6 separate regions of the Homo sapiens genome follow, and regions 2, 3, 4, 5 and 6 are each linked to region 1. Evidence: promoter capture Hi-C in 16 types of primary human blood cells and fetal thymus (Javierre and others, 2016). All regions are on one chromosome and are shown on one strand. The core of a region is centred on a gene start or on the middle of the fragment in contact, and the rest is flanking DNA. Distances in the headings are between cores, read along the strand shown.

Region 1 (4,313 bases), core at 1,360-3,859:
GGGATAACAGGCCTGAGCCACCGCGCCCAGCCTTTTTTTTTTTTTTTTTTGGGACAGCATCTCACTTTGTTGCCCAGGCTGGGGTGCAGTGGTGCGATCATGGCTCACTGCAGCCTTGACCTCTTGGGCTCAAGAGATCTTCCCACTTCAGCCTTCCAAGTAGCTGGGACCACAGGCATGTGCCACCATGCCCGCTCACTTTTTGGTATTTTTTGTAGAGATGGTGTTTCACCGTGTTGCCCAGGTTGGTTTCAAACTCCTGTGATCAAGCAATCCACCTGCCTTGGCCTCCCAAAGTGCTGGCATGAGCCACAGCGCCTGACCTGTTATTCTAAATTTTTTTACATTTTTTTCTCGTCAAGTTTCCATGGATTTATTTCCTCGACCAGGTTGTAAGCTCCTTCAGAGCAGGAATTGGGGGACTTCTGTTTCTTTGTAATGTGAACGAAGAAGACACTCAAATTTTTGTAGGGTTAACCGAGAATAAACCAGATATAACAACTATGAAAATCAATACGTTTCTAAAATCAGGCATAATTCAAGTTAGCGTTTTAATAAACCCTGAAGCATGACTCAGTTACAGCAAAGGCTGGCCACCTAAGGGGACACGTGTACTAAATGTTAGCTTTGGGAGGGATGAGGTCACTCATTTCAAAAATATGCAAACTTATTTGCAACTTCCTATAGTTTTATTGTGTCAGTCCAGTCTACTGACCAGGATTTCTGTAAAGCTCAGATAGCATGAACAAGTTCCAAATTGGAGTTAGACTGTACTTTTCAATTTTTTCTTCTATGTCCCAGTAAGTTCTCCCAGGCTGTTAAAAACAACTAACTGTTTACCTTTTTCACCCTTCATGCCCTTTCACTTCGTTCATTGCTAGGTCTATATTCTTTAAGGGGCCGTGCGCGGTGGCTCTCGCGCCTGTAATCCCATCACTTTGGGAGGCCAAGGCAGGCAGATCACATGAGGTCAGGGGTTGGAGACCAGCCGGGCCAATATGGTGAAACCCCGTCTCTACTGAAAGTACAAAAATTAGTCGGACATGGTGGCAGGTGCCTGTAATCCCAGCTACGCGGGTGGCTGAGGCAGGAGAATCGCTTGAACCCGGGAGGCGGAGGTTGCAGTGAGCCGAGATCGCGCCACTGCACTCCAGCCTGGGTGACAGAGCGAGATCCTGTCTCAAAAAATAAAGAAATAAAAATTCTTTTTTTTTTTTTTTTTGAGACAGAGTCTCGCTCTGTGGCCCAGGCTGGAGTGCAGTGGCGCGATCTCGGCTCACTGCAAGCTCCGCCTCCCGGGTTCATGCCATTCTCCTGCCTCAGCCTCCCAGGTAGCTGGGACTACAGGCGCCGGCCACCACGCCTGGCTAATTTTGTGTATTTTTAGTAGAGACGGGGTTTCACCGTGTTAGCCAGGATGGTCTGGATCTCCTGACCTCGTGATCCACCCGCCTCGGCCTCCCAAAGTGCTGGGATTACAGGCGTGAGCCACCGCACCCGGCCAATAAAAATTCTTTAGGAACGCAAGCTGCAGCTCCAATATGAGGATGTGTTTGTTTACCTCCCATCCTTCCTCATTGTGTCTAATCAATAGCGTTTGGGGGGAAGAACACGGGATAAGGAGAACCTGAATGAAAAAAGCCTTAGTTCTGAAAATGAAAATGTTCAGCTATTAAAAGGTAAGGGCTTGGCCGGCTGTGGTGGCTCATGACTGTAATCCCAGCACTTTGGGAGACCCTGTCACATACATACATAAAGTTAAGGGCTTGATAGCTGGTACCCTCAACAACTCCCAAAGGGTAGAACAGCTATTTGGGGTTGTGGAAGTTATTCTTGGGGAGATAAGGGGAAGGTTGGGATGAGGAAGAAATGACTTGGAGTGCAGGTGTCAACATAGGGGAGAAACCTGAGGAAAAACAATGTCAGGACATGTTATATAGGTGAGCGTTGAACTGTCAAGACAGAAACTCCTGGCGTTTTCCGCTAAAATTGAAAGGAGCCCAGTGAGGTGTAGGAATCAAGGCCCGGAAGTCGGGGGAAAGCGCCTGAAGAAACTGTTGAATGGCATTTCCAGAACGGATCAGCAGCCGCATATGTGCAAGGAAGGCTGGCACTGTCCTCTGAGGGGGGCCCAAAGGGTGAGGGGCGGATAGGCTCCTGGCTAAGGAAGGTGAGGACTCGCGGGGTCTGGGACTGACAGAGGGGGGCGGGGTTGACCTGCAAGGCCAGGGGCTCCGGGACCCGCCTGCGGGTCGCAGGGTGGGGGCACGGGGACTGACCTGCTGGGCCCGCGGTGGCCGGGGCGCGGCCGAGCCGGCCTGGCGGAGGCGGGCGCAGTACTGGTCGGTGGCCTTCACGGCGTCCACTAGCCCCACGGCGCAGCGGCGCATCTGGCCGATGGTGTCGGCCGCCTCGATCAGGTCGCGGTACCGTTCGCCCACCATCTGCCGCAGCTCCTCCTTCTTGTGCTCGATCTCGGCCCGAACCTGGCGCTCCAGCCCGCGGATCTCCTCCGCTCCATGCGTCTCGAAAAGAGCCGCAGGGTCGCGCAGATCCAGCCGCTTCAGCGCGGGTGAGGTTGCCGCGGTGGCCATGGTGCACTCGTCAGCCCCCGGCGATCTACCTACGCCCTTTTAGTCCCGCCCCCTCCGCCATCTTCGTTGGGGGCGGAAGCGCTTCCGCCCCGCCGGGGGCCATGTTTGTTACCCGAGGGGGCGGGCGCGAGGGGGCGGGCGCGAGGGGGCGGGCGCGAGGGGGCGGGCGCGAGGGGGCGGGCGCGAGGGGGCGGGCGCGAGGGGGCGGGCGCGAGGGGGCGGGGGCGGGCGCGGGCGCGGGGGCGGGCGCGGTCCTGCGCGGGGTTTTCTTAAACGGAGCCGGCTGGGAAGTGAGGTCGCCAGAGAGGTGAGGTCGCCAGGTTGGCTGCGAAACTGTGGCTGAAGTCTTCCCTTTCCCTTAGGAGCAGAGCTTCTCTGTGGAGTTAGGTGTCGGGATCGGGCCCCGCGGACTGACGGCGTTGGCGCAGGCGCAGCCGCCGCTCTCCGCGCGCCTGGCGCCCGCGAGCAGACTCGGGCGCGCTCGCCGCCGCTGGGTCTCGGATCGCACCCCGCGTGCAGTTTTAGGAAGAGGGACATCCGCGCCCCTCGCTGTTCCCCGGGAAGAGCTACCACGCCGCCCCTGAAGGGGTTCTGAGCGCTTGTTTGGCGTCTGCTTTTCCTCTGCTGTTGATTCGTGTTGGAGGTTTTCCATTTCGTTTAAAACCGATGTTTAGCCCCTGAAGACGTTTTCCCTGCGAGAGCCTGACCTTGGTGGCCATGGGGGAGGAGGGCGGCGGGCTGGGCGGGAGAGGCTGGGACGCCCCGGGGAACGCAGCGCCAGACGGGTGGGCGCTCCTCACGTGGCCCAGGAATAGTAGAATCTGGAGATTGTGGCTTGTTTCTGCTAAGTCCCAGACCCTTCTTTTTTTTTTTTTCTGTTTTAATTTCTTTTGGAAGATTTCACCCACACCAGTGTCGACAAAATGATGCAATGTGCGCAGCGGCCATGCTGAGCCCCCAGCAACTCAGGGCCTACCCTGCATCCCTGCTCATTCCCTCTCCCACCCGCCACCTCCGGACGCACAGAATTTCAATCTGCAAATAAATGGTGCATTTATAATATTCCAGTTTAACCCGCAAGAGCCTTGCGGCGTAGGGAGTATCATTCTCACTTTACAGACTCATTTTACAGATGGGGAAACGGGGGCCCGGAGAGGCAAAGGGTTTTTTACTCAGTAAAAGTGCAGTTTTCAGAGCCTGTCCACGAGATTATCTCATTTTCTCGCACATCGGCCATGCCAGGTAGGTAGGAGTAATATTCCTAGTCCATTTATGAGGAAAAAAAAAAAAGAAACAAAAGCTTATTTACCTGCCCAAATTACATAGCTGATAGGTGACCCAGTGAGTATTTGGACGTCGATTTTTAAATTACTGGCTCGCGCTCTTTTCTACGTTTTCACATAATTTCCCACAGAGCACCCTCTGTTGGCAGGCCTGCAGTTTGCAGTCTCTAATCCCATTCTGCAAGGGACACTTACTGGTATTCGGCTGATAAGCATCCGCAGTATCTCCTTTCTGTGATTGGGGAATTCATCGCTATCTAGCAAAATCTTTTTTTCTGGCGCCCTTTATAGCTACGGTGCCAGCCTGCGGCCTGGGACTGGCACAGCAGGCACAAGCGCCTAGGACTTGGGTGAAGAGTTAGTGACATTAAGAAGCAGGCTGTAATCCCAGCACTTTGGGAGCCCAAGGCGTGTGGATCCCTTGAGCCCAGGAGTT
Region 2 (4,313 bases), core at 715-3,214, 490 kb after region 1:
GTCCAAACAAAATAGACCGTCTCCTCTCAATAGCTCCCTTGGAATCCTAATAGACCAACTTGGGCCACTTACTCCCTCTTGGACCAATCACTGTGGCTAGAGAGATGGAGTTGCACCCATTGTTCAGGGTAGGGTCACAGTTTATCCCTAGAGCTTGGACTGGAGCTCCAGCTAAACCACATGGACTGAGAGGGGAAGAGGACCCCCCAGGGAACTGCCAGGTCATGCTAAGGTATGAGAGGGGACCTTCATACCCCTGGTCCTTCATGGTTGATTCCATTGGTTTGTGGATAAAATGCACACAGATGGCGCTTTGGCTTTTTTGAGGGACAGCATCACTTTATGCATAGAGTCTACCATAAAATTCAGGGCCTTGCAGGACCCACTGAAAAGCGTATCAAATAAAAGGGATTTGTCAACATACATCCTCATCTTTACTGTTATTCCTTAGGACCAGTGAATCTAGCCGCATCTTTGACTTCTTTAATCTAAATGATGGGAAAACTGGGGAGCTGTTCTCCAGAAAGGGAGCCTAGCACCACATTAGAGCAAGGACCCTGAAGTCAGACTTCCTAGGTCCAAATCGAGGTGCTGCGATTTACTAGCTACATAGTCTTGAACAAGTGAATCGAGATCTCTGTACCTTGGTTTCCTCATCTGTCAGTGAGGGATGATAATAGTTTATCTCCCATAAGAAGATTACATGAACTAGCAAGTTGATATGTCTAAAATGCTCCATACAGTGTTTGGGCAAATAGCAGGTATGCTCTGGTAAAAATAATAGTTGTTGTTGTTTTGGAAAGAGTCTCACTCCGTCGTCCAGGCTAGAGTACAGTGGCATGATCGCAGCTCACTGCAACCTCCACCTCCCAGGTTCGAGTGGTTCTCATGGCTCAGCCTCCCAAGTAGCTGAGACTACAGGCGCATGCCACCATGCCCGGCTAATTTTTGTATTTTTAGTAGAGATGGGGTTTCACCATGTTGGCCAGGCTGGTCTTGAACTCCTGGCTTCAAAGGATTCACCCACCTCGGCCTCCCGAAGTGCTGGGATTACAGGCATGAGCCACCACCCCCGGCCAACAGTTTGTCTTATTTTGAGGTGGGTTCCTCTGTTTAGGGATCATCAAACAGAGAAATTAATTTCTAAGCCTCTCCCAAAGAGACACTGAGATAGAAGATAGCTAAACATCTCCTATGTTCATTCAGGTTCTTGGTTTCTGAAAACTCTGAGTTGATCTTGGTTGGCCATGGATGTTAACAGTTTTCCAAAATGGATTTAAGGACTGAATCTGTCTGGACTTCAGTTTGGCCATGGAGAAACAGATCATCAGAAAAGTGGGGGCAGGAAACCTTACTCTGTGTGTTTCACGGGCATATTGTCAAGACAAAGAATGTGGGTGACATGCTTGGAACCCTGTGGGGTATCGCCCCCCAACCCCCCATGTTACCTTTACCCCAGCAAGAAAATGCCCATTCAAAGGTGTTCTTTTGCTTACTGTGTCTCCTTATTATAATAGTTCTCCTATTTCTCCCCACACGGAACTGCTATAATTAAAAGGCCATCAGCTTTGCATATCATTACTTGGCTATAAAAATTTCTGCAAGTTGGAACTTGAGTGTAGAGGGATTTGGCTTTGATGCACAGGGTTTATGTTGCTGTCTTTCTCGCTCCTAAAGCACATACACACCAGCACATCAGTCCCACATGCAGGACTTTTCATTGCCTTGTGGTTTGGAAGGGATCCACTCCTGATGGAAACCCCCTAATATCTCAGGAAAAGCCTATAAAATAAACCCAAGTGGGAGGAAGAGGCAGACAGATGAAGACCTGCCAACCGACAGCTCTGGTGTCTGGTGATGGGGCGGTAAGGGAGCTTAGGAGATCAGGCAGCCCATTTATGTCTTCTTTCTTTCTGACTCCCAACCCCACAAAGACAGAGGGAATCAATTTTTTTTTTCCTTTCTTCCATTTTTTTTTTTTTTTGGTGAGATGGAGTCTCACTCTGTCACCCAGGCTGGAGTGCAGTGGCGTGATCTTGGCTCACTGCAACCTCCACCTCCAGGGTTCAAGCGATTCTCCTGCCTCAGCCTCCTGAGTAGCTGGAATTACAGGCATGCACCACCACACCTGGCTAATTTTTGTATTTTTAGTAGAGACGGAGTTTCACCGTGTTGGCCAAGCTGGTCTGGAACTCCTGACCTCAAGTGATCCACCCGCCTCAGCCTCCCAAAGTGTTGGGATTACATTTGTGAGCCACCATGCCTGGCTGGAATCCACTCTTAAAATTCCCTGGAAAAGAGGAATTCCCATACTCTCCCATGGACCCTTCCTGCTTTTGTGCAAATATGACTGCTAGAACTTGGCACTGTCGTGTACTTTGATGACTCATTTGGTAGAGTGGAAGACCGTCGGTCTCTAGAACTTGGCACTGTTGATCATCTGGTAGATAATTCTTTGTTGTAGGCGGGGGGTGCCCTGTGCATTAGCCTCTTCCCACTAGATGCCTTCCCCCTAGTTGTGACAACCAAAAATGTCTGCAGACATTGCCCACTGTTCCCTAGGGGTCCAAATTGGCCTGGTTGAGACCACCACCCTAGGTAGTACATGCTTCAAGCACTTGAAGGCCTACTATGTGCCAGCCACTGTGCTAGGTGCTGCCTAAAGAAAAAAACAGTAGCCTCCTATCTTTGGACTCAGTAGAACACAGGAAGATAGGGTTAGCTTGCGAGTTTATGAGAGCATGTGGATTGGTATATCCAAGGTTAGTGATCTGTCCACCCTGAGAAATGTCTATGTTCTTTTTTATTTTATTTTATGGAGACAGAGTCTCACTCCATTACCTAGGCTGGAGTGCAGTGGTGTGATCACAGCTCACTGCAGCCTCCATCTCCCAGGCTCAGGCAATCTTCCCACCTCAGCCTCCTGAGTAGCCAGGACTACAGGCAGGCACCACCACAGCTGGCTAATTTTTAAACATTCTATAGAGATGGGGTCTCTTTATATCACCCAGGCTGGTCTCAAACTTAACTTCTGGGCTCAAACAGTCCTTCCACCTCAGCTTCCCACAGTGCTGAGATTACAGGCGTGAGCCACCACACTCTGCGTGTCTATGTTCTTTTTTTTTTTCTTTTCCTTCCTTCCTTCCTTTTCTTTCTCTTTCTTTCTTTCTCTTTTTCTTTTTTTTTTTTTTTTTTTGAGACAGAATCTCCCTCTGTCTCCCAGGCTGGAGTACAGTGGTACAACCTCGGCTCCCTGCAACCTCCGCCTCCCAGGTTCAAGCAATTCTTGTGCTTCAGCCTCCCCAGTAGCTGGGACTACAGGCATGCACCACCACACCTGGCTAATTTTTGTATTTTTAGTAGAGACAGGGTTTCACCATGTTGGCCAGGCTGGTCTCGAACTCCTGACCTCAGGTATCTGCCCACTTCGGCCTCCCAAAGTGCTGGGATTACAGACATGAGCTACCATGCCTAGCCAGGTCTCTGTTCTTTAAACTGCATCACTCACTATCTCTTGAAAGAGCTCTTTCTGGCCCCACAGCCTTCCTGCTTAGCATCGCCACACAAGGAGATGGTCCCTCAACACCACGTCCTTGTGTGCCCTCCTCAGTGGAGAGCGGAGCTAGTTTTTGTCCTCCATAGATCCCCACTTCTGAGGCTTGATCAGCTTCCTCCACACCTCCCTCTCTTCAGGCGAAATTCCAGGTCTTTAACCTCCTGGAAGGCATTGTTGGCAGTGCCAAAACCATGCCAAACATCTGGGTGAGAACTGCAAAATGAGACCAGTTCTTCCAAAGTTTCCCAGCTCTGCCACTGGGATGGAATGTGATGGAAGGTGAATGTGGCCCCCAAGCACGTCGTCCCATCTGAGCTTGGTGGAGCTTCAGGCTGCAGGTTGTGCAGGGCCCACGTGTACCACGTGTGTCAGCCTGATATGGCTTGGCTATGTTCCCACCCAAATCTCATCTTGAATTGTAGCTCCCCTAATTCCCTTATGTTGTGGGAGGGGCCCAGTGGGAGATAATTGAATCATGGGGGTGGTTTCCCATATGCTGTTCTCATGGTAGTGGATAAGTCTCAGGAGATCTGATGGTTTTATAAGGGGAAACCCGTTTCGCTTGGCTGTCACTCTTCTCTTGTCTGCCGCCATGTGAGATGTGCCTTTCACCTTCTGCCATGACTGTGAGGCCTCCCCATCCACGTGGAATTGTGAGTCCATTAAATCTCTTTCTTTTGTACATTGCCCAGTCTTGGGTATGTCTTTATGAACAGCGTGAAAACGGACTAATACACAGCCCCACCTCTGTCTTACC
Region 3 (4,313 bases), core at 1,316-3,815, 440 kb after region 1:
AAATCAAAACAACACCACCACCAACAAAAACTCCAGAAACAAAGATGAAATTGTTGAGAGCTTCCAGAGAGAAAAGTCTTCTTAAATACAAGGAAATGAGAATGGAATTAGCATCAGACTTTTCAGCAGCAGCATCAGATACTGGAAGATGATGGAACAATACCCTCAAGACATTGAGCAGGCCAGGCACCATGGCTCATGCCTGTAATCCCAGCACTTTGGGAGGCCAAGGCAGGAGGATTACTTGAGCCCAGGAGTTAGCGACCAGCTGAGGCAATACAGTGAGACCCTGTCTTAAAAATAAATAAAAAGAAAAAAGATACTAAGGCCCGGGCGTGGTGGCTCACACCTGTAATCCTAACACTTTTGGGAGGCTGAGGCAGGCAGATCACCTGAGGTCAGGAGTTCGAGACCAGCCTGGCCAACATGGTGAAACCCCATCTCTACTAAAAATACTAAAGTTAGCTGGGCGTGGTGGTGCGTGCCTGTAATCCCAGCTACCTGGGAGGCTGAGGCAGGAGAATTGCTGGAACCCGGGAGGCGGAGGCTGCAGTAAGCCAAGATCACGCCACTGCTCTCCAGCCCGGGTGACAGAGCGAGACTCCATCTTAAGAAAGAAAAAACAGAAAAAAAGATATTAAGGAGAGGTAACTTGGGATGCAGCACTTTCAAGTCAAGCTATTAAGTCACAGAGAAAAATCAAAATTTTTCTTTTCTATGTCAGGGTTCAGAAGTTTATCACCCACACATCCCGTAGGAGGTTAAGGAGGCCCCCTGACAAAATGAAGAAGGGACACAAGGGGATAATATGACATAAGAAAGAGGGCATCACAGATACTGTGTGAGTCCTGCTCTGCGAGACACCTGAGGAGTCAGTGGCACAGAGGCAGGAAGTAGAAGGATGGTTGCCAGGGGCTGTGGGAGGGAGGAGGAGGAATGGGGATCTGGGTTCAGTGGGTGGAGAGTTTCAATTATGCAAGATAAAAAGAGCTCTGGAGCCGGGTGCAGTGGCTCATACCTGTAATCCCAGCACTCTGGGAAGCCAAGGCAGGCAGATCACTCGAGGCCAGGGGTTCGAGACCAGCCTGGCTGACATAACAAAACCCTGTCTCTACCAAAATTACAAAATTAGCCGGGCATAGTGATGCATGGCTGTACTCCCAGCTACTGGGATCACTGAGGTACAAGAATCACTTGAATCCAGGAGGCGAAGATTGCAGTGAGCTGAGATCATGCCATTGCACTCCAGCCTGGGCGACGGAGCAAGACTCTGTCTCAAAAAAAAACCAAAGAGCTCTGGAGATGGGTGGTGGCGATGGCTGTACAAAAGTGATTGCACTTAATGCCAATGAATGTACACTTAAAAATGAGGAAGATGCTCAATTACATGTTATTCATTCACATTTTATCACAATTAAAAATGGTAATAAGAAAGGGAGGAAGGAAGGAAAGAACCTAATTAAAACCTAGACGATGAGAGGATGGGGGCCACGATTCTTAGAACTGTCTTCTTCAAATGGGAAGAGTTTGAAGCTTTAGGATTGTTTTTCCTTACCTTCATATAGCAACCTGATTATATAATCATATGTTAGCACACCAATATTGTACGCTCACTTTTTTGTTTTGAGATGGAGTCTCACTCTGTCGCCCAGGCTGGAGTACAGTGGTGTGATCTTGGCTCACTGCAGCCTCTGCCTTCTGGGCTCAAGTGATTCTCATTCCTCAGCCTCCCAAATAGCTGGGATTACAAGCGCCCACCACCACGCTCGTCTAATTTTTGTATTTTTAGTAGAGGCGGGGTTTTTGCCATGTTGGCCAGGCTGATCTTGAACTCCTGACCTCAGGTGATCCTCCCGCCTTGGCCTCCCAAAGTGCTGGGATTATAGGTGTGAGCCACCATGCACAGCCTCCTGCCTTCTCTTTGAGCTAAGCCATAATGCCAGCTTCTCAGACATCATCTTGGCATGACCAACAAGGCCATGACCACACGGGGCCTATCCCAGGGCGCTGACAGGCTGCCGTCTGACACCTGAAGCCTGACAATTGCTGAACTGGGATGTGTAAGGAAGGCAGTTTTTTTTTTTCCTCCATTAACAATTGAAATACTTCTGCTTGTAGGAAAAAATGCCCCTCCCTCCCTTGGATACATACGTTGTGGTATGATGCCTGCCCTCCATGTAGCAAAACATACTAGTGATCTGAGACTTCAGAATCTTTTTCTTGCCTGGATTTTAGAAATACTTTGGTGGGAATCACATGTGGGGAGTGATAAATGAACCTGTATCTTAGGTTATTCATCATCCTGAAGGAACTGCCAGAGTCTAATTTTGTTCGAAAGTCCTCCAAGGGAATTAAAAAAAAAAAATCCTTTCCTCCAGTTTTTTTAGGCCCTCAAGAACATGCAAATTACAAAAACATAAATAAGTCCTCCCCACCCCCCACCCCACCTCCAGAGGTATTCCATAGTCAAGTGTGTGCTAGAGTTCATGATGCCCATGTACGGCCTGTGGGATGGGGTGAGGCTCCAATCACAGGCGATGTGGTTGTGGTTCCGAGGTATCTGGCCCTAGGCTGCCTTTCCCTTTGACAAGGCAATCGGGTCCAACCTGGGACCCAGACTGCACGACCTCTTCATGTGAACTTGGGGGAGGAATAGCAGGGATCAGTGGCCATCCACTTCCTGGGGATGTGAGACCCTCTTGTGGGATAATTCCCAGGGTGACTCTCTTGGCTCCCAAGGGGCACAGAATGGGCGCCACCCACCTGCTGCAGAGGTTCACCTGATTCCTCGACCCATCTGGCTTGTGCCTTGCCCCAGGAATCCCCAGTCTCTTTGTGGAGAACTCCTGGCATTGATCTTTTCATGAGCCAGGTGAGAGGCTGGGCCAATGGAGCCTGTGTCTCTTTGTGCGTGTGCTCTCAGCTGCAGGCCTTCCCAGCCAGGAGGGATGTGTGGCTGAATTCCTGGTACGACTTCCATCTAGTGTTTTACGAATCTGAGCCTGGAGTCATAGAGGTGCTTTCAGCCATGCTTTCCCCTCTTCCTCCTGGAATGGTCTACCCACCTCAGAGGCAGCATTTTCCTAGGATCAAGCAGAGAGATCCCTGTGACCAGTGATTAGAGACCTCCTGCCTTCGGTGTGCAGTGTGGGGCTGGGGACTGCTCCCACTGTCTAGGGTGGGGTGGCACTTAGCAAAGCCTCCATCTGCAGCCCCGGTTTCCCAAGGGGACCAGAGAGCCTGCCCACCTCTGCTGCCCAGGGCCCACTTATCACAAAATAGGCTTGTCTTGGGAAAAATAATTCCCGTCTGACCACACTACTCATTGCCTCATGCTTCCTTCGTCCTGTGTCCTCATATTTACAGAGCTGCTTAGGTTGTCCCTGCTTTCTAAGCCTCCCAGACAACTTTGTTGTGAATATACAAGGTTCCCCAGAACATAAGCCTGTCCACTTTCATACAGTGAATCTGTCAGATCCAGACACTTCCCTGCCTGCCGTGGACTTTGGACGTAGGGAGAGGAAGCCCAGTGGCCAGGTGATTGATGAGGCTCTGACTTCAGAGTCAAGGAACTTTGCTACCGGGTTGCAAGCTTTTCTACACCACGGCTTCATTGGTGGAACAGAGTGTTTGGGAGCAACAGATAGCAGCCCTCCCCACTCAAAGGGCACAGGGATTTCATGATAATTCCCTGCTGGGCAAAGCAGAGGGAATCTTGAGTTTTTGTGTCTTCCAAGATGGCAGCTCTTCTGACGGCAGGTTCCCCCACTGAGTCAGAACCTACCTCACCTGCCTCTTTGCTTCTGCTTAGTCCCTTGACCTCAAAACTAACAACTCCCTTGGTTATAAGCAATTATTCATTAAATAAATAAATAAAAACCAACAACTGTGTGTGCTCAGCTCGGCAGAAAGAGGCCCGGAGGGTAGACTGCGGTGCCCTTTCTGGCCCCTCTCCCGTACTTGGTCTGTCCTTGGGCCTGCAGATATACTTCTTCAGATTCAGGGCAAACCCAGGTGTGGACGACCATGGTGCAAGGTCAGGGGAGTTGGCTAGAGGCATGCATCTGGGCATGACACGGAGCTCGTTAGTTGGAACAGCTCGGAATCTTCAATGCCAGTATAGGCATTCTCTCCCTTTTTCTCTGAGGAAACACAGAGATCTGATCTTTGTCTGGTTATTGAGAACTAAAGCAAATTGAAATTGACTCCGAGATGTGGGTGTTTAACCAGATGCCTTCACCTGTTGTTTGAAGATGTGGCTGTCTTCAGTCATACAAACGAGGCGCTGCCTGTGTCTTCGCAGTCTGCTGGAG
Region 4 (4,313 bases), core at 1,259-3,758, 360 kb after region 1:
TTTCCTTCTCTGTGCCCTGTTCTCAAGGGTCAGCCTCCTCTTCACACTAGAGCCATGTTGGGCTTTCCTGTTGGGAGTGGGGATGTGGGAGAAGTCACCTGATAGACTGAGTCAGTGCCCCCATGGAGCCGACAGGGGAATAAGCCAATGGGTTGAGTGTGGAGAGGTGGAATTTCAGGCACTAAGGAACTCAGAGGAGTGCCAGGGTATGCATGGGGTTTGATGAAGATATTTGGGGCCACGTACCTTCCCATGGGCTCCTTGGGCTCTACCTTGCGAGGGACCAATTGCTCTGCCCTGATTTGTTTAGTCCTAAAAGACTCAGGATAAGCACTGGGTTTTGCCTCCTGGTAGTTCCAAAGTGTGCCCTGTTGCTTAGAGACAGGGGATGGTGCCTGGAGTGAAGATAAGGTTGTAAAGGAAACCAAGCCACAAATTCCCTTGTTTTTGTTCAGGTTGCTGGACAGAAGAGTAAAGGATTTTTGCTCTGACAGTTGGAAGAAAGTGTTTTCTTTTCTGTGTGTGTTTTTACCAAGTTGATGTGTTATCCAAGACACAGCCGAGTTAGTACCCACGTTGACAAACAGTGTTGAGTTTTGCATGGCTACCTTCCTCTTAATTCTGGTGTTCCTGATTTAGGAAAAAAAAAAATACACAGTCATCTTCAAGGGATTCTTTGTTGAAGCTTCAAATGATCACATCTGCTCTATGCTAGCGTATCAGTGGACAGAAGAATTGGAGGGGGCGATATCCAGGAATGGTACTTGAAATGCTCCTTCCCAGTGGGGAGTTTAAATTTTTCATTTATCAGTGGTAGCAATTTTAGCTCCTGATGCTGGAAGCCTGCTGGGAGCTTGAGGAATCACATGTGTATGCATGTGTGCATGTCTGCATTTCCTCATGGCCTCATACCTTCTGTGAGTCTGTCTCCTCTCCTCTCTCCTTCCTTCCTGCATATTCATCATGAGTAGCATCACAGGTTTTCTGAAGCCCTCTGACCTGTTTCTCTTCCCCATTCCCTGACTCTGCACCGATCCCCTCCTCCCCTAGGTCAACTTCCTGAACACACTCAGTTCTGTTCCTTTACTGAGTCCGGGGGCATTTCAGCTGAGTGGGGGGCTCAAAACACACCTTTGAGGGGAACAAGGTGGCTACACTAGTGACGTGGAGAAAACTGCATCAGGAGCAGACAGGAGGGGACATTAACTGGGTAGGGGTGTGAGTGCCATGGGGGCCCATGAGGATGGGGACACCAGGGTGGTTTATACAGTAGAAGAGACAAGGGATTTTAACAGATGGAAAGGGGGAAGAGAGGAGGGACCCGGATCTGTCCGGAATCCCAGACATGTACTTTGGTTGGCCCTTTGAGCATGTCTGCCCTAATTCGGCATGTTTGTTTTCTTCTCAGCATCCTCCCTTTCCCTCTGCCTCTAAGTTAAAGTCCTGAACTTCTGCCCAGCTGCCCTTGAGCTGGAAGGCCCATAGTTGTCTTAGCTCTTCCCTGTCCCTCATTCTCCATAGCTAGTTGGTCACCAAATCCCACTGATCACCGGCTCCCATCTCCCCCACCTCTAGTTCCCATCTCCCTTTTCCAGCCCCACTGCTTTGTGAGGGGGCCTTTTTTTTTTTTTGAGACAGAGGCTCGCTCTGTCTCCCAGCTGGACTGCAGTGAGGCAATCATGGCTCACTGCAACCTCCACCTCCTGGGCCCAAGTGATCCTCCTGCTGCCTCAGCTTCCTGAGTAGCTGGGACCACAGGTGTGCCCAGCAAACCATTTCATTCATTTGTTGTGTGGAGACAGGGTTTTGCCATGTTGCCCAGGCTGGTGTCAAACTCTTGTGCTCAAGTGATCCTCCCACCTCGGCCTCTCAAAGTGCTGGGATTACAGGTGTGAGCCGCCGCACCTGGCTGAGGCCCATTTTTTTTGTTGCTTCGTTTTCTCCTCATCCATCTGCTCTGCACTGTGTTACCAAACCTAACTTTTGAAAATAGAAATGTGCTTTCACGCCAGTCTTCATCTTACGTGAGAAAGAAAAATATAAATGTCTTTAATCTCCCCACACACAACCCCCAGTCACTACTCTCCGATGCTTGACTCCTGTGAGTTTCATCAAATCTGTGGGTGCAGAGCCCACCAGGGTGGGAGCCTTTGGAGGAGACAGTGGAGCGGTGTCAGAGAGCAGTGACAGCACAGGTCCTGCTCCAGCAGCACCTGGACCAGGGTGGGGCCATATGGTGTCCTGGAAACGTGGCACACAACCTCCACCTTGCAGCGTGTCCACCTCCCCGGGGGCACCCATGGCCCACAGGTGCGAAAACCCCCCAGACTCAGGCTGCGGAGACTCCTCTCAAACAGGAACTCAGCTCACCAGGCTGGAATAGTCTTTTAGGGTCCTTAGTTAAGCACACAGGCTCTGGGGTCTATTGATCTAAGTTCAAATCCCAGTGGCCCCTCCACTTAATAGCTGTGTGCTTGAGACAAATACCCCTCTCTGTGCCTCCATTTCACTCCTACTGTGGCCATGCTTTCTGGAAGCTCTAGGAGAGAATCAATTTCTTCGCCTTTTCCGACTTCCCATGGCTGCCTGCCTTTCCTGGCTCATGGTCCCCTTTTCCCCTGCAATGCCCAGTTGAATCTTTCTTGCATTGCATTACTCTATTGCTAACTCTCCTACCTTCCTTTTCATTTTAAGGACCCTTATGATTACAGTGGGATCCTCCAGATAATCCAGGATAACTCCTCTCAGGGTCAGCTGGTTAGCCACCTTAGTGCCTTCTGCAGCCCCAGTTTTCCCTGCCATGCCACACGGCATATTCAGATTCTCGAGATTAGGACATAGACATTTTAGGAGGTCATTAATTTCCTACCATAGCATGTATTATTTTATTTTGGCACAGTTGTGGCCAGAGGACCACTATCAGAGACCTGAGTGGATGGGACCACTTTAGCAGCTAGCAGAAATCCATGTATCACTGCCCAGTGTGTCTTCCTTGCCCACGTGAAGCCTCAAAGCAGCATTGCCGTGGATCTGCCTGATTGGGAAAGAAACTGTATTTCCCTCTTGCTTTATTACAGTTCTCTCTTCTATGGACTTGGGCACCTGTCCCACAGTAACCTGGCCAGGGGTCTGTCTGCGAGTGCCTGTGCTACAGTGTATTCAGTCTTTCCTCATCATCATGGAAGATAGTCTTATGCTAACTTCCCCAGTCTCCATGGGAACCTCCTCTTCAGTGCATTTAAAGACAGTTATTCCTTCCCTGGTTGAGGGATCTGTATCCAAGGGTGAGAATGAGATGGCTGAAGGCAATAGCATTTTTCCTTCATATCAAACTCATGTTTTCCATGCACCCCTGTTGGTCCCTTCCCAAAGCCTTCCTGGTGTCTCCCCACCTGGGGTAGAGGAGTGGGCCACTTAGATGGAGAATAGGCTCACATATTCTTTTCTTTTTTCTTTTAATAACAGCTTTATCAAAATGTAACTCACACAGCCTACAATTCACCCATTTGAAGTGTACAGTTTAATGATTTTTAGAATATTCACAAAATTGTGCAACCACCACTATAAATTTTAGAACATTTTCATTACCCCAGAAGAAACCCCTACCCATTAGCAATTATCCTCCATTTCCCTCCAGCTCCTCCCCCACAAACCCTAGGCAACCACTCATCTACTTTTGTCTCTATGAATTTGGCTATTCTGAACATTTCATATAAATGAAATCATATAGTATGTGGCCTGTTGTATCTGACTGCTTTTAATTAGCACAGTGTTTTTAAAATTCATCCATGTATCAGTATTTCATTTCCTTTTGTTGTCAAATAATATTCCATTATATGTCTATACCACATTTTGTTCATCCATTCATCAGTTAATAAGCATTTGGGTTATATCTACTGTTGGACTATTATGAATAGTGCTGCTCTGTACTTTCATGTACAAGTTTTTGTATAACGGCATTTTCATTTCTCTTGGGTCTAAACTTAGTAGTGGAATTGCTGGGTCATTTGGTAACTCCATATTTGCCCTTTTGAGGAAAATGTAAGACTGTTTTCCAAAGTGATGCACCATTTTTCATTCCTATCAGCAATATAGGAGGGTTCCGTTTCTCTACATCTTCACCAACACTTGTTATTATCTGCTTTTTTTTATTATAGCCATCCTAGTGGTTGTAAGTGGTAGTTCTTTGTGGTTTTGATTTGCATTTCCCTGATGACTAATAGCAGTGAGCATTCTTCACGTGTTTATCATACCTTGTTGTAAGTTAAGTGTCCACAATAGTAGTTCTTACTTTGGGGGTTACGATCGCCATG
Region 5 (4,313 bases), core at 738-3,237, 310 kb after region 1:
TGTGTCTGAGATGCCTCTGAATACTCAAGTGGTAACGTCAAGTAGGCAGATGGATTCATGACTTTGGAGTTCATGGAAGACATTGGGGTTGGAGATATAAATTTGGGAATGACGAAAGTCATGAGATTGGTTGAGATTGCCCAGGGGAGCCTGTGTAGGCAGGAGAGCGAAGAGCACTGAGGACCGAGCACCAGGGTCCTCCATTTGGAAATCGGGAAGTGGAACAGAATCCAGCAGAGGGAACTGAGCAGAGGTGTTGCCAGTGAGGATGCAGGAATACTGGGGGAGAAAGGTTTCTTGGAAGCCAAATGAGGGATGTTCAAAAAGAGGGGAATTGACTAGACATGTGAAAGAAATGCTGAAAGGATGAGCAAGCTGAGATCTGAGATGGGAGCACTGGATTGGGCCACATGGGCACCAGTGGTGACCCCGACAAAAGCAGTCTCAGTAGAATGGTGGAGATGCATCATGGCAGTAGGTTTCTCTCCAATTACATTCAACTCTTTGGCGACAAGTGCAGAATAGATGGAGAGTCGGCATTAAGTAGGCATATGTGTAGGTATTTGCTAGAGGGTGGCTCTAGCGAGGGCCACTGCTTGATGAGGGGGGAAGTGTGGACATAGGTGGGAGGTTGGAGTAAAAAGGTGGCTGGGCCAATGGCACAGAGGTGCCAGTGGTACTAAAGAACTGGATCCAGCGTTCACAAGAAAGGAGCTGGAAATAAATATAGCAGGCAGGTGGTTCAACACCTGGAATGCCTGCCATTGAGATTTTAGAGGTAGATCTGATAAGTAGTGCCCTTGGGATTAGTTGGTTGAGATGGTGCACAGGACAGGTTCATTGGAGGTGAGGCAGATGGCTTATCTACATGAATAGTGGCACCTGAATAATGCTGCTGGAATCTTCAGTGAATGCAGGATGGGTCTAGGTGGGAACTAGGTGATTGCAAGAGGTGAGCCCGTAGCCTACAGGATTAGAGAGTTGTAAAAAATTACTAATCAAATTATTACTCGCTTTGGAATAGACTCAGCTGCACAGAACCAATGCTTGATTTGCAAAAGTATGAAACTGGAGTTGAGTATGCAGAAAGCGTTGACGTTCCAAGCTTCATAGGAAGCTGTTTAATTCCAATATAGAGAGGAGGCAAAAACTGAGGAATAGCTGTCTGGAGCTGCAGGGAAAACCTATAAGCTGATTTTTAGAATCCAAATCCTAGTCCACAGGAAATCTTCCATTTCGATAACCTACAAGTATCATCAGAAGTCCTTGACACAAGTGGATAAGAATTGCTGTGTTTTGATGGTACTCTAGAAACATAGACACAAATCATTCAAGTGCTCCAGCCCCTTTGTCAAAACAGGCCTTTTAAAGGGATGATAAATCTGAAGAAAGTTAAGTATCCTACTGCAAGAAAGACTCATTTAATATTACCACTTTATATTTAATGATGAGTTCCTCTCGTTATGCATTTTTCTTTGTTCAGAAGAGCTTTAGAGTTCCCTTGTCCAGTTTTAGAATTCTGTTGTGATTTTGAGTGGAATTATGTTAAAGCTATCCATTTGAAAAGACTTAGTAGCTTTAAGGTTTCCAGTCTTTCTATTCAAGAATGCAGAATGCTGCTGCAGCGATTTCCTATTTTATATTTTTCAGTTTATCTCATGCCTTCCTTTTTATTAAACTCTAATGTTCAAGATAGATCCCAGAGCTTTCCTGCCAGTCTGCCTCACCATAGTAATATAGTCTGGTCCTTAAGATACTGAACATGATAGTTTAGAACCAATGACTACCTGAAAAATCCAAAGCGAGACACAGCGCAGGTAAATTTAATGGGGTGACTGTTTCTTTGTATTGAACATTAAATAAAGCCAAGAGGAGATTATTCACCTCCAGGTAGTCATAATTGCTGCAGTTTTAATGGAGCTAGATGTCTTCCAAGCTAAAGACTTTCTGAGCCACAGCCTTGCACTGCAGTAGATAACAGAATGGAAGGGATGAACGCTCTGAGGATTCATTGTTTGAAATGAAATTTAGAATAGTGCACTGGCCCTGCAAATGGCTGGGCAACAGTACAAAGACCAACATGGCCTGAGGCCATCCACAGTGACAACGCTGCTTTTGTGAGCCAAGCTGTGGGCAGCCTAGCAGGCCCAGGGGCACTGTGGTCCTTTATAAGGTTTCTTTCTTTCTTTCTTTCTTTTTTTTGGAGACAGAGCCTTACTCTGTCACCCAGCCTGGAGTTTTGTGGTGTGATCACAGCTCACTGCAGCTTTGACCTCCCAGCTCAAGAAATCCTCCCACTTCAGCCTCCCAAGTAGCTGGGACCACAGGTGCACGCCACTATACCTAGCTAACTTTTGTATTTTTTGTAGAGACAGAGTTTTGCCATGTTTTCCAGGCTGGTCTGGAACTCCCGAGCTCAAGCAATCCACCTGTCTCAGCCTCCCAAAGTGGTGGGATTACAGGCTTGAGCCACTGCACCCAGCCCAGATTCTCCTTTCTATGGGCAGAATTGGATTAAAGACCAGGCCCTACTTGGGCCCAACTTCAGTTTTCACACTATGATATTATACAGATTGCATCCCCTTCCCTCCACAATAAGGAGGGATGGAGGTGTGTATAATAGCCATCTTCATGGCTTTCCCCTGGACCAAGTCTTTTTGATGAGACAAGAATACATTTTTATTGGCTGTTTCTCCCTTACAAATGAATGGGATTCCTCGGTCATTTCTCAGTCAAGCCTCAGAAATTGTAGTCACCTGACCCTGAATCAGACACAATCCACCGGGAGAACAGAGACTAGAACCTGCCTTCCCAGATTCCGTGTAATTAACTGGCTAGCTTCTGCCACCATGAAACCTTGAAAAGCTTCAGTACTGGCGATGCTTGAGCATGTTTTGCATCATGTAAATACTACCCAGGAGGTACCTCAACTGGTTCAGTCATAAAGATGGCGCTGCACTGGGTCATCTCTGTGATTTTCATCCAGGTTTTTGGCAGCAGCCATCTGTGGTTACAGAGGATTTGAAGAGGAAGCATACTGAGAAAACAGAGCTATAGTAACATCCAGGCCTGTGAGGGTAGGTAGACTCCAGTGCACATGTGTTAACAGTAGGAGGCCTGCTCTGCGTAGAATATGGACTTGGCTGTGTTTTATGCACTTTCCACTCACATGCGCCCATGCTTATGTTAGGCCAGTATGCCTTAAGGATGCAGGACTGCGTGATGAACCCTCATGATAATTCCACCTAAAAGCATTTTCTCGGCCTGGCACGGTGGCTCAGCCTGTAATCCAACCACATTGGGAGGCCGAGGTGGGCGGATCATTTGAGGCCAGGAATTCGAGACCAGCCTGGCCAACATGATGAAACCCCATCTCTACTAAAAATACAAAAATTAGCCAGGTGTCATGGCACACACCTGTAATCCCAGCTACTGGGGAGGCTGAGGCAGGAGAATCGCTTGAACCTGGGAGACAGAGGTTGCGGTGAGCTGAGATCGCGCCATTGCACTCCAACCTGGAAGCTAGAGTGAGACTCCATCTCAAAAAAAAAAAAAAAAAGAAGCATTCTCTCTCCCTCAAGCAGGTTGTGTGAGTTTAATTGAGAAAAGCAGTTGACCCAATACTGCTGAAGTCAGGTGTTACTTTCCTTGCCAATGATTAGAGTTCCAGATGAAACTCAAGACTACTAGGTTAAACAGTTGCATAGAGTGGCTTTAATGAATAAAGTAGCAGAGCGGGCCAGCTGAATTCTATGGTTTAAAGACAATCTGTGTAGGGCTGCAACTCTTGGATTCGGTCCTGAAGTAGTCAAAGAAAATTTGCAGAGAGCCAGGAAGTTAACAATGTTCTGTGATAGTTGCTGAGTTCAGAAAAAGCTTCCTAATCATCGTACTTGGATTTTCTGAGCATTTCTCTTCTCCGTGTCTTGGATTGTGCATGCGTGTGGTGTGTCTCCTAAAGAAAGTTGAAAGAGCATTTTTTTTTTTTTTTTTTTTAGATATAGGAATATGTACATTCTGATATCTAGGCTGGAGTACAGTGGCACGATCTTGGCTCACTGCAACCTCCACCTCTTGGGTTCAAGCGATTCTCCTGCGTCAGCGTCCCGAGTGGCTGGGACTACAGACGTGCACCACCATGCCTGGCTACAGTTTTTTGTATTTGTAGTAGAGATGAGGTTTCGACATGTTGGCCAGGCTGGTCTTGAACTCTTGACCTCTGGTGATCCACCCACCTTGGCCTTCCAAAGTGCTGGGATTACAGGTATGAGCCACCACACCGGCCCGGCCGAAAGAGCATCTGTTTTAATTGG
Region 6 (4,313 bases), core at 1,257-3,756, 270 kb after region 1:
TGCAGCATGCTTAGCACTGCTGGTCCGCAGCCCCTAAGTGCCTGTAGTACCCCCCGTCAATGTGTGCATGGGGCAGAAATGCCCCAGACACTTCTGATGGTCGCTAGAGGGCTGTCTACAAGGGAGCAGATAGGGTAGGGCAGGATGGGTCTCTCACAAGGACACTGGACCCAAGGAGTTTGAATTCCAGCTGAGATTCTGCTGTGGAGTAGACAGCCTGGGGCCAGGCTGGGTCTGTGTAGAGGAAGGGGTACCTTTGCAGTGTGCACTGGGAGGCTCTGTGGGTTCGCTCTGCCCCTGGCCATCACCCCTGGCTACAGACTGTTGCTGGAGACCCTTTCCCCAGCAAAGCACACCAATGCGGGTTCACAGGCATTTAACATTCGACTTCCTACTGCTTCTGGGCTGGCCCAGTGCAGTGCCTGGCATGAAGCAGGTGCTCAGGGCATGTCTGTTGACTGAGTGAAATGAATGAAGCCTACCTGTGGTTTTGTCAGGGTCCAAAGATCCTTGGTGATGAAAACTCTTGCTCGGTTCCCAGAGGCACGCACTTCCCTTTGTTTGTATCACCTCTATCTAGAAGCCTTTTCAATCTTGCTCTAATGCTTGAGGTACGGCCAGGGAGGTTCAGGCTGTGAGAGTCTATTGACGTAGACTCAAAGCAGGAGAGTGAAGGAGAGAATCAACTATCAGGGCCCTGGGAACCTGGAAATTCAATTTTTTTTTCCTTCAAAGCCACAGCCTACACTTCCTGGTTGTAAGATTTCAGTCTCCACTTTTTCCCACCCACTGCTCTGTTTTCTTCCATTCAAATTCTCATGTCTTCCTTACCTTCTTAATATGACATTTTGGAATTATTTTCTCTTTTCAGAGCTTGGACTAAATGAAGAATTCCTGATGGTCCCTTTGTTTTCTTGTTTGCTGGCAGGTGGGATAGAATCAGGATTGGTACTACCAGGATTCATGGTTTTCTTTCCTCTTTCTTTGGTACAGAACTTACGTGTTCTTTTTTTCATTAGTTCATTTGTTCATTCATACTTCATGGAGCCAACTGCTCTCCTTGGCTGAATCCAATTAGTGAACTTGGTCTCTGCCTTCACTAAGCCCAGGAAGAGACAGACATGTAAAACCAACAATTACACAGTAATTACAAATAGTCATCCTGCTATTTTGGATACTTGTTTTCTTTTATAGTGTCCAGAGGGTGGTTACAGTTGTCTAGAAAAGAATCCAATCGTTAGGCCTGGGATCCTCCTCTTTGTAGGAATTTTATCTTTTTTTTTGGAGCAATCAGTGTTATTTGAGCACATCAAATTCAGCCTTATTGAGAGTGAGATGGTTTCTTCCTTTATTAACCCTTTATTAACCCATGTACTTTGGACTGTGCTATATGGCTCAGGATGATACTACAAATGTTCCCTTTTCATGAATATTTCCTGTGTGTGTGACCTTGACTGTTGAATGTGGGCTTTCCAGTGTGTGTGTGTGTAGTGTGTGTGTGTATGTGTGTGTGTGTGTATACATTTCCTTCTCAATAGAACTGATTATTTTTGCATGTAAGAGATGAAATCACCTATTGATTTCACAAACCATCTGAGCCCTGTGCTCTTTTTTCCTGAAATTCTATGGGAAAATGAAAGGTAATTATGCATTGGAAGCACACACTAATAACATGCTTGTGGGTGGGGAGGCGTGATTGCAACATGGAATTGGCATTCCTGCTGGTCCTTGTCTTTGAATTTTCGCTACTGAAATATTTGAGATACTCCAGGTAAGCCTTATAATCACCGGGAGTTTTTTGTTTTAAAGCAGCATCAGTGTTTCTGAAACTCATGGGATGGCCTTCCATTCTACTGAACATTGGCAAGGTCCTTTTTAGAATATGTGTTGAATTTCATATACCTGAAGGCACAACAACAGGCTTGGAAATGCTTCAGTGAACACTGGTTCAAATCCAGGGCTGGGACTGGGCGCAGTGACTCATGCCTGTAATCCCAGCACTTTGGGAGGCCAAGGTGCGTGGATCACTTGAGAGGAGGAATTCAAGAGCAGCCTGGCCAACATGGCGAAACCCCATTTTTTTTTTATCTCTACCAAAAATAAAAATAAAAGTTAGCTGGGCATGGTGGTGTGCGCCTGTAGTCCCACCTACTCGGGAGGCTGAGGCAGGAGAACTGCTTGCACCCAGGAGGTGGAGGTTGCTGTGAGCTAAGATCACACCACTGCACTCCAGCCTGGGCGACAGAGGGAGACTCTGTCTCAGTAAATAAATAAAACAAATCCAGGACTGGGCAACCGGACATTGTCATCTGTAAGAGGCATTTTCTTTCACAGCTCTGTGTCTGGTGCTGTTCAAATCAGGGTAGTGGTCTCTTTTATTCAGTAATTCCCGTGCAAGGTCACGTGGGGCATTTATCTGTGAACAGAAGACTTTGAGTCTGCTTCTCACCTCAGCTTGATCCCCAGGTGTCCCCCTGGGGTCAGGAGCAGAAAGGGCCACTAAGGCCTACCAGTGCCTGTGAGCTCCATTCTGAGGTGCTCGGGAATCCCTTTTTGGGGTCAAAGATAACAACTAATTAAAACGTAATAAAGCTGGTATGTGAACAAACACGGCAGAACTCATCTGGCAAACGAGATTGGGCTCCCTGGAAATGGTCAACTTGGAATGATGGCATTATTCAAAAGACTTATGGAAGTCTCTTAGAAGGCTTCTCAGGGCTGGTTTATAATCAAGTTTAAAAACAAAGGCAATCTTATGTTTTTCTGGATGGACATCATTTTAGCAACAACAGCAACATCCCCAGAAAAAATATCTTCCCCCAAAACATTCAAAGCAATTACTCCGAAGTCAGAGGAGCCTCCAGTCATTTTTCCCTGAGGGGCAAAAAGGACTTCACAAGACAAACACAATCCCTGATATTGCATTTTCAGACATTTTCTCATGTCCATTTGGCCTTTGTGGCTTTAGCTGACTTTCTTTTGGTCTCTGGAGCCAACAAGGTTAGGTGAGAGGCTACAGTAAGAATGCAGTGAGAAGAGAGATGAGAACAAACTCACTCTCTACATATTTGTCATTCAAAGCATGGCTGGTTAAAAGGAAATTATGATTTGATTTTTTAAAATTTCATTGTTAATACTTTCACTGTTAGATGGCTCACAAAGATGATGGAATTTACTCAAAAGTTGAAGAAGCATTTATATGGAACCAATTGAGCTCTATGTCTCCTTCCCAGGAAAGATGAGGATTTAAAAGCCTGAGGGCTCACATGGGACCCCAGGCATATTCCTTGCATTAGATTGTGTATTGCTAAGAGTTTAAGCATTGATTTCAGTTGTCTGGGTGGAACAGGCTGCTTAAGTCAGCTTTGCCTCACAGCAAGGAAACCTCAAATCTCAGTGGTTTGCCATCCTGAAGGTTTATTTTGCTTCCAAATAACATGCAGGCTGCAGGTTGGCTGTATCTCTGTCACATTGTTTTCTCCTTCTGGATTCCAGGCTGAAACAGCAGCCCCTGTGGCCATGTGCAATGTCATGGTGGAGGGGAAGAATTAGAGAATTGGTGGAAACTCATGACGTCCTTGAAGAATTCTGCTTGGATGTGGAGTGTTCACATCCATTCACATTCTGTTGCTTAACAAATCATATGGCAAAGTCTGACATTGTACAGGGAAGTATGCTTGGCCAATAGGCAGGTACTGCAATTCCAGGTGGGGACATAAACATCTACTAAGGGGAGGGAGACATGAATAATTGTGAATAGAGTAGGCCTTCTGCATCCGTGGTGAGGAACACACAGATATGAAGAGCTGGCTCAAGGGACTTGATCAGCAGATCTTGGTATCTGTGGGAGGGAGGAGGTATCCCTACGGATACCAAGGGATGACTGTATAATACAGTCTGCTACAGTCTTCCCTCCTGGTCATAAATAATCATCTTATATATCATTTTGTATATTTATATACGACATAAATTCATTTCTGACTCATGGAAGATACCTAAAAATTCGCATGTAATCATGGAATCAGGTGTGAATTTCAGGATCTCATGAGATTCTATCAGCAGGTCTGGATTTAGTTGCTGTTCATCTAGAGAGCTGTGAACCAAAATAAGTGACCTGGTCCACATGTCCGTCGTGGAAGAACAGGAATAGGCCAACCCCAGTGAGCACTTGTATTTCAAAAGAGAAAGAAGCGCATCCACATGGCCATCCTGAAATTCCACTGGACAGCATGAGAGGCCCACCTGCCTTGGGATAGGGAATTCTCCTCAAATGAGAAGCTCTCAAATCCATTGTTCTCTATGGCTTTTTTTTT

The links. The method cuts DNA at HindIII sites, captures the fragments that hold promoters and counts their contacts. A CHiCAGO score of 5 or more calls a contact.
Region 2: a fragment that was not itself captured here is called in contact with the fragment with the promoter of COG1 in region 1 in 1 of 17 cell types (megakaryocytes); the score reaches 5.2 in megakaryocytes.
Region 3: a fragment that was not itself captured here is called in contact with the fragment with the promoter of COG1 in region 1 in 1 of 17 cell types (M0 macrophages); the score reaches 5.2 in M0 macrophages.
Region 4: a contact is called between a fragment that was not itself captured here and the fragment with the promoter of COG1 in region 1, in 3 of 17 cell types (M1 macrophages, M0 macrophages and M2 macrophages). The highest score is 6.2, in M1 macrophages.
Region 5: a fragment that was not itself captured here is called in contact with the fragment with the promoter of COG1 in region 1 in 1 of 17 cell types (M1 macrophages); the score reaches 5.3 in M1 macrophages.
Region 6: a fragment that was not itself captured here is called in contact with the fragment with the promoter of COG1 in region 1 in 1 of 17 cell types (M1 macrophages); the score reaches 5.9 in M1 macrophages.

Annotation. Positions count from the first base shown.
Region 1 is chr17:73,191,351-73,195,663 of GRCh38, reverse strand. It overlaps COG1 (component of oligomeric golgi complex 1), which reads right to left and starts at 2,609. Exons shown (of 14, transcript NM_018714.3): 1 at 2,280-2,609. The coding sequence starts at 2,594. RefSeq lists a silencer at 2,118-2,327 and enhancers at 2,378-2,657, 3,288-3,337, 2,623-3,382. The HindIII fragment of the contact is 5,644 bases long and covers 1-3,896 here.
Region 2 is chr17:72,700,611-72,704,923 of GRCh38, reverse strand. All of the region lies in intron 7 of SLC39A11 (solute carrier family 39 member 11), which reads left to right. Among named protein-coding and RNA genes, the nearest start is that of LINC00511, 62 kb to the right of the region's middle. The HindIII fragment of the contact is 7,138 bases long and covers 1-4,313 here.
Region 3 is chr17:72,748,560-72,752,872 of GRCh38, reverse strand. The region is part of intron 6 of SLC39A11 (solute carrier family 39 member 11); the gene reads left to right. Among named protein-coding and RNA genes, the nearest start is that of LINC00511, 110 kb to the right of the region's middle. The HindIII fragment of the contact is 2,059 bases long and covers 1,536-3,594 here.
Region 4 is chr17:72,826,668-72,830,980 of GRCh38, reverse strand. The region is part of intron 6 of SLC39A11 (solute carrier family 39 member 11); the gene reads left to right. Among named protein-coding and RNA genes, the nearest start is that of LINC00511, 190 kb to the right of the region's middle. The HindIII fragment of the contact is 3,642 bases long and covers 688-4,313 here.
Region 5 is chr17:72,882,044-72,886,356 of GRCh38, reverse strand. The region is part of intron 5 of SLC39A11 (solute carrier family 39 member 11); the gene reads left to right. Among named protein-coding and RNA genes, the nearest start is that of SLC39A11, 210 kb to the left of the region's middle. The HindIII fragment of the contact is 1,760 bases long and covers 1,108-2,867 here.
Region 6 is chr17:72,925,013-72,929,325 of GRCh38, reverse strand. The region is part of intron 5 of SLC39A11 (solute carrier family 39 member 11); the gene reads left to right. Among named protein-coding and RNA genes, the nearest start is that of SLC39A11, 170 kb to the left of the region's middle. The HindIII fragment of the contact is 6,640 bases long and covers 1-4,313 here.